Regions from separate parts of the Homo sapiens genome. Here region 2 is linked to region 1. The links are contacts of gene promoters, found by promoter capture Hi-C in human tissues and cell types (Jung and others, 2019). All regions are on one chromosome and are shown on one strand. Each heading gives the region's core, a stretch centred on a gene start or on the middle of the fragment in contact. The rest is flanking DNA. Distances are from core to core; before and after follow the strand shown.

The links. The method cuts DNA at HindIII sites, captures the fragments that hold promoters and counts their contacts. A contact is called where the count stands out against the background at its distance.
Region 2: a contact is called between a fragment that was not itself captured here and the fragment with the promoter of TMEM45B in region 1, in 2 of the 25 tissues and cell types used here (liver and thymus).

Annotation. Positions count from the first base shown.
Region 1 is chr11:129,814,268-129,817,819 of GRCh38, reverse strand. TMEM45B (transmembrane protein 45B) reads right to left here and starts at 1,972. Exons shown (of 6, transcript NM_138788.5): 1 at 1,922-1,972. It overlaps LOC124902793 (a long non-coding RNA gene), which reads left to right and starts at 3,133. Exons shown (of 2, transcript XR_007062952.1): 1 at 3,133-3,552. The HindIII fragment of the contact is 7,942 bases long and covers 455-3,552 here.
Region 2 is chr11:129,878,125-129,881,676 of GRCh38, reverse strand. NFRKB (nuclear factor related to kappaB binding protein) reads left to right here. Exons shown (of 27, transcript NM_001143835.2): 13 at 169-234; 14 at 3,134-3,213; 15 at 3,322-3,368. Among named protein-coding and RNA genes, the nearest start is that of NFRKB, 16 kb to the left of the region's middle. RefSeq lists a silencer at 1-23. The HindIII fragment of the contact is 5,602 bases long and covers 1-3,552 here.

The DNA of each region.
Region 1 (3,552 bases), core at 723-3,222:
GTAACATCTGTACTTTGAACAGTTAAGTATAGCAGCTGATGTTTAACTGCAGGTAGGGGGGAGATGAGAAACAGAAATAACTGGTGCCAAATGTGAGATTCAATTACCTCGACCATCACAACCAACATCAACCAGAAGGGTGTGGGAGGAACTCATGGAATAAATGGGAACAGGTGTGGCCTGAGGATAAGTAAGTGGGGGCACTGTTTCCATCTTCATGAAGATGTGAGAGGAAATCAAAGCTCTTTAAAAAGAAGGAAATGGAATGCTTGGCTCCTGTAATATCAGAACAAATAATGCACAGCCAGAGGTCATGCCTCACCTTCTGCTTATCTCAGTCACCTCCACTTGTAAAATCAGTGGGCCATATTCAATAAAACCTTCATATCAGTTCCATATCTTTTCCCAGAAACCCCAGGAACAGAGGGAGCCAATATCCTTATTAAACCAAGAAGCTCACTGTCACAAAGAGCTAAGTCTGACGCCCCTGGGCCCCTACCTAACCACGTGTCCTGATTCTTTCCATAACTTCCCACTGCACAACATCCAGGTTATACTGAAGATATTACACATCTGGTTAAAAACAGTACACGTCTCTCATGAACAATAAGCCATCCTTTCTATTAAAATGAGTGTAAAATTGCAGGTAAAATGCTGTAGGCAGGCCTGTTTGGAAGGCTATGCGACCCTAGGAGACAAAAAGGTGCAGGAGGAGGAAAAGGGCAGACACCGCAGAAAGCGGTCGAAGAGAACGTGAAAGAAGTGGCCATTTCTAGCTGGGCGCGGTGGTTCACGCCTGTAATCCCAGCACTTTGGGAGGCTGAGGCGGGTGGATCATGAGGTCAGGAGATCGAGACCATCCTGGCTAACACGGTGAAACCCCGTCTCTACCAAAAAAAAAAAAAATACAAAAAATTAGCCGGGCGTGGTGGCGGGCGCCAGTAGTCCTAGCTACTCGGGAGGCTGAGGCAGGAGAATGGTGTGAACCCGGGAGGTGGAGCTTGCAGTGATCCGAGATTGCGCCACTGCACTCCAGCCTGGGCGACAGAGCGAGACTCCGTCTCAAAAAAAAAAAAAAAAAAAAAAAGAAGTGGCCATTTCTGCAACTTTTAGGAGAGCTACCTGCCCTCAAATTTTGAAAGGGTTTCTATTTCTTAAAGTGCTACGTTTCCCTGGCTGAAACTCACATCTTTCTTCCCTCTAGGGCTGGATCAAAGCTTCAGAGGTTGTTTCTCTGGCCCTAGACAGGGCCACCCCCGCAAATTTCTCCCCCACTGCGCCTGACATCCGCTTCCATCCATGGCTCCATTAACGGAAGCTAAGCACTGGCTCGGGGGACTTTATCCACCGCCCGGTGTTATTAGATTCCAGGCTTCCTGGCCTCAGGAAAGGATCTGGCTCGTGTATTTGTGTATCGCAGCTAACAAGGAAAGGCAGTCGGTACCAGTGCCCAGAGCTATGTGAGCTGTGACTGGTCACAGCCCAGGAGCCAGATGGCATCCCCGGGGGCGCGCGTCCCCGGACTCACCGGGCAGACGGAGGCCCGGGGCTTCACACCTTCCCCTCACCGGGCAACGCGGCAGACCTGACTCGCGGGGGACTGAGCAATATTCGTTCCAGGGCCGCGGCCAGCCGGACAGAGGCACTCGGGGGCGGTGGGAGTAGTGTGCGCACCGGTTCCGCAGCCCGGAGGGGGCCCCAGCTGGGCTTCCGCGACACCAGGGCCCTCCATCCCCTCCCGTCCTCCCCTAGCGCAGCCTTCACCCCTGTCCCAGAGCCCCTCCCTGTCCGCGTCCCCTCCCCCGCAGGTCCCCTGCGAGTCGGAACCTCCTCTCCATCACAGCCCCGCTCCTTGGCGGGGCCCCCTCTCCCTTCGAGCCCTCCTCCAGGTTCGAGCCCCCTGCGGGTACGGACGTCTGACCTGTGCCCAGCGCCTCGCAGCCGTCTGCAGCCCGCGCCGCGCGCCAAGTGCGTCCGCCCAGAAGCAGGTGCAGCTCCAGGCCCGCCCCGCCCCGCTGCGCCCCGCCCCGCTCCACTCCGCCAGGCCTGGCAGCCGCCAGCCCCTTTCCACCCTTGACCGCCCTTCCCGGTCCCGGCCAGCGTGCGGGGCATCTGTCGTCAGGTCCGCACTTCCTCCAGGCCTTTGACTTTCCCGTGGAGATGTCTCTGGCCTCAGGAACTCCCTAAGCTGTGTGCTTCAGGAGAGGCTGGTTCCTGAGTCACCCAAGAGGACTGCAACCAACCTGGACCTCCTGAGATGCAAAGAGATCGCAGGGCCTGGGAGGCGGCGAGGACCCTGAGAACAGGCTGTGGCTCCGAAGAGTGTTTGTTACCAAGCCAGGCAACCACTGCGAACACACCGCAGAAACAGCCACGGATCACCGTCCAGCAAAGGAAGAAGGTGCCAACGGTCCATCAGGGACCACAACCCAGTTTTTTTAGTTTAAGTTTGGTGGCTAAGTTTGAGTGTCACATAGTTCATTCATTCCTTCATTCATTCAACAAATCTGCCATGTTCCCATCTGATAACAGATCTGACAGGTGGGCACTGTTCTAGGTGCTGGCGATAGAGCTAAGAAGGAAACAAAGTTCCTGTCCCGGAGAAGGGGGCTACCTGCTGAGGAGAGCATGACTTTCTTTGTGGTATTGTGCTGTGGCAGCAGGGTCCTCTTCTGTAAGCTACTGAGAGGTGAAACCCGCTGGGCTTCTGGGTCGGATGGGGACTTGGAGAACTTTTCTGTCTAGCTAAAGGATTGTAAAAGCATCAATCTGCACTCTGTGTCTAGCTAAAGGTTTGTAAACACACCAATCAGCACTCTGTAAAAATGCACCAATCAGTGCTCTGTGTCCAGCTAATTGGTGGGGACTTGGAGAACTTTTCTCTCTAGCCAAAGGATTGTAAATGCACCAATCAATGCTCTATGTCTAGCTAAAGGTTTGTAAACACATCAATCAGCACTCTGTAAAAACGGACCAATCAGCACTCTGTAAAATGGACCAATCAGCACTCTGTAAAATGGACCAATCAGCGCTCTGTAAAATGGACCAATCAGGAGGATGTGGGCAGGACCAATCAGGAGGATGTGGGCGGGGCCAATGAGGGAATAAAAGCTGGCCATCCGAGCCAGCGGCAGCTGCGTTTGGGTCCCCTTCGATGGTGTTGGGGTTTTGTTGTTTCGCTCTTTGCAATAAATTTTGCTGTTGCTCACCTTTTAGGTCCACACTACCTTTATGAGCTTTAACACTCACAGTGAAGGTCTGCAGGTTCACTCCTGTAAACCAGCGAGACCAGGAAGCCACCACAAGAAACAACTCTGGAGCCGCCACCTTTAAGAGCCATAACACTCACTGTGAAGGTCTGTGGCTTCACTCCTGAAGTCAGCGACACCACGAACCCACAGGGAGGAGCAAACAACTCCAGACGCACCACTTTTAAGAGGTGTAACACTCCCTGCGAAGGTCTGTGGCTTCACTCCTGAGGTCGGCGAAACTACGAACCCGCTGGGAGGAAGGAACAACGCGGATGCGCCACCTTTAAGAGCTGTAACACTC
Region 2 (3,552 bases), core at 634-3,133, 64 kb before region 1:
TAATTATTAGAATAAACTGCAGCTTTGCTCGTGTAATCCATCATGCCTTTGCATAATGCTATGCCTTGAAGGTTCCTGCTTTTCTAATACATTGTGGAACACTCAAAAGCTGTTTCGGAGCTCAGGGACGCACCTGTATGGTTTGTTTATGTGGTCCATTTCTTGCAGCTGTTCCTTCCAGTTTCTCTCCATTTGTTGAATTCAAAGAGAAAACCCAGCAGTGGAAGTTGCTTGGTAAGTGATCCGTATTACCTACCCCAACAGGTTTTCGTTCTCCCATTTCTTCCCCTAAGTTTATTTGCCTTCCAGTCAATATAGTCCTGCAGATTGGTTTTAAAAAGCAATATCAGACCTTATTTTGCTCTGTGAAGGAGTCCTTCAACACCCTTTTTGTACTCTCAAGGTGGGTTAACTAACTCCTCTGGTTGGACCAAAGCTGAGATGGAAGGAATAGCCTTTCTGTATGATGTAGTCTGGTGATGGCTAAATTTAAATCTGCAAGGGTATTTTGCAAGAGCATCGACATTTATATTAATCATACAGATGACTTTGGATTAATTTGTAATATAAATTTTTTCTTTCCTAAAAATGGGCTTTGCTATTGAGGAGAGTGTGCAGCAGCCCCGAATAAGTTGTTTCTAAAGAACAGGGTTGTTATTTTTAAGTTTATAAAGCCCACTTAGTGTGTAAGTTGTCATAACATGCATCTGAAGTCACTTGGAGGCTGTTACCTGGTGATGGTGAAAAGAGAGAAATCCAGTGTTGGTTTCTTCTTGAAATTCACAGGCACTTCTCTGTGCTGAGTGGTCTGTGGAGAAGCGTATGGAGAGCAGGTTATGAAAACGGTAGACTCATTCATTCGTTATTTATTACATTTATTCAGCTTCTGGGTGTCAGGCACTGTTAGGTGCTGGGGGACACAATGGCTTCTGAGACAGTGTGCTCCTCTCGTAGGGCCTAAGGTCTGTTTGGGGAAGAAATACTTACTTAGATTTAATGACAAAATGATCCTTTCTGTGAAGGAAAAGTACCAGAGAGGATGGGGGTTTATGATAATAGGAATTGATGTAGTTTGCAGAGTTTGGAGGACCTTCCTGAGGAAGCAGCATCTGAGCAGAGGTGTATGATGAATAGCACTGAGCCAGACAGGCAGAGGGGAGGCAGCAGCATTTGAGATGGAGGAGGTAGAACCTTTCCATGGGGAAGATTTGATCTAAAACAGCCACACAACCCACGGGCTGTGAGAGCTGACGGTAATTTAGACACAGGGAGAGAGGATGGATACGTTTGAGAAAGACTTAGGTGGGCTTGGTTATGGCTTGGCTGTGGGGAATGAAGGAGAATGGTGTGAGGCATGGCTCCTGTTAGATTTGCAGCTGGTGGAGGAAGGTGTTGTTTGTGCAGGTAGCAGCTGTGGAGGACTGGACTTGGAGGGTGGAGATCCCGAGTTTAGTTTTTAAAATTTATTTATTTATTCATTTATTTTTTGAGACAGAGTCTTGCTCTGTCCCCAGGCTGGAGTACAGTGGCACGATCTTGGCTCACTGCAACATCTGCCTCCCGGGCTCAAGCAATTCTCCTGCCTCCTCCTACTCCTGAGTAGCTGGGACCACAGGCGTACGCAACCATGCCTGGCTGTTTTTTGTATCTTTAGTAGAGACAAGGTTTCCCCATGTTGTCCAGGCTAGTCTTGAACTCCTGAGCCCAGGTGATCCACCTGCTTTGGCCTCCCAAAGTGCTGGATTACAGGTGTGAGCCACTGCACCCAGCCTGACTTTAGTTTTAGAGCTGCATTTGAGGTATTTCAGTGGAGTTGTTGAATAGACAGTAGGATGTGTGGGTTTAGAATTCAGACCAGAGAGTTTAAGGGGGAGAGTGTTGGCATGTGTGTGGTGCAGGGCACAGATGATGCTGTTACCTGAGGAGGAAGCACAGAGTGAGGAGAGAGGGCCGAGGAGGGCTCTTCACGGCAGAGGGGCTGAGTGACAGCATGAGAGTGCGGGGGCAGGGGTTGACTATAGAGATGGGGAAAGCCTGGAGCAGGGTTTTCCTGAGTCTTGGGAGCCAGGAGACCGGATCGCCTGAGAAGTGGGGAGTGGTCATTTGCCTCCATAGTTCCTAAAAGATTCAGTAAGATAAAGACTAAAGATTTGCAAACATGGAGGAAGTTGTGAATTTTTCAGTGAGCGTGATTCTCTAGTGGAACGGTGGAGGCGAAGCCACCGTGAGCTGAAGGTGATGATGGTAGCTGACTGCAAGCACTCCCCCCATCTGTCAGGCTGCAGTAGCCATGGAGGGAGCACATATACCTGGGCCTGGCAGAATGTTTCTTGTAGGGCCAGATAATAAGCGTTTGAAGCTTGTCGGCCAGATGCTTTAGTTGAAGCTACTCTGCCATTGTTGGGAGGTTTCTGCAAATAGTGATATTGTGTATTGACCATGAAAACAAAGGTAAACAGCCCCTTTGAGAAGGGTAGCTGCATTCATCACATAAGCAGACCTGGCCGATGATGGTCCTGTGGCTTCTATGCTGGGCAGGAGACACAGGTGCCATCAGGGTCTCAGACAGCCTGAACAGAGTGACCTGAGAAGAGGGCACAGGAGACAGGGCTTATCTCTTTCTAGGCGGGTTGTGGAAAGTCAAGCTTTTTCCTGCCCCTGGGTCTTAACTGCTATGCTAGTGAATAGAATTTTCTCTGTGCCCCACTAGCCAGAAGCCTTTCTTACCTACAAAAATAGAATAATTACCTTGGTATAAGCTATGATGACATCCTTTGTGATGCTTACCACTTTTTGAATTGATTTTAAAATATGTGCTCTTTCCTCACTTGACTATAAACTCCCATGAGGGTGGGGACTGAATTCACCGAGTAACCTTAGCGTCACATGCAGTGCGTGGCACAGTGGATACTCAGCGAATGCCTACGGAGTGAATGATTTCATTAGGTGGCATCCAAGAGTGGTGGTCCAGGCTGACTTCCGCCAGCTGGAAGGCAGTGGATGTGTGAAGGATTGTTGCTACAGCTCCTGATAGAATCTCTCTGTGTTGTAGTTACAGCTAGTAAAGAGAAAGCAGGATTCTCAATAATACCTTAGACCTTCTTATTTTTTTATCTCTTTATTCCTCTAATAGGCCAATCCCAAGATAATGAAAAGGAATTAGCTGCCCTCTTCCAGCTATGGCTAGAGACCAAAGATCAGGCCTTCTGTAAGGTATGTTTTTTTAAGAAATACCAGATCCTTCTCACTGGGTTTCCAGAGCTCTTAAGTTTGCCCAAATTCTTTAGTCCATTTACCTGTCAACGTTTTCTTTTTCTCCAGCAAGAAAATGAAGACAGCTCAGATGCCACAACACCTGTCCCTCGGGTGTGAGTACAATACTGTAGTGGTGGGTGGTGTCCTGGGAAACTGTAGTTCAGATACTGCCTTGGTTTTGTTAATACTTCTTGGTATGCTAGAGCTGTAATGGGCTTCAGAGCTCTGAGGAGTCCCCTGGTTCTTCCTGACTTGGCCGCACCCCCTGAGTGAACGGGACTCCTTGTGGAAGGGGCT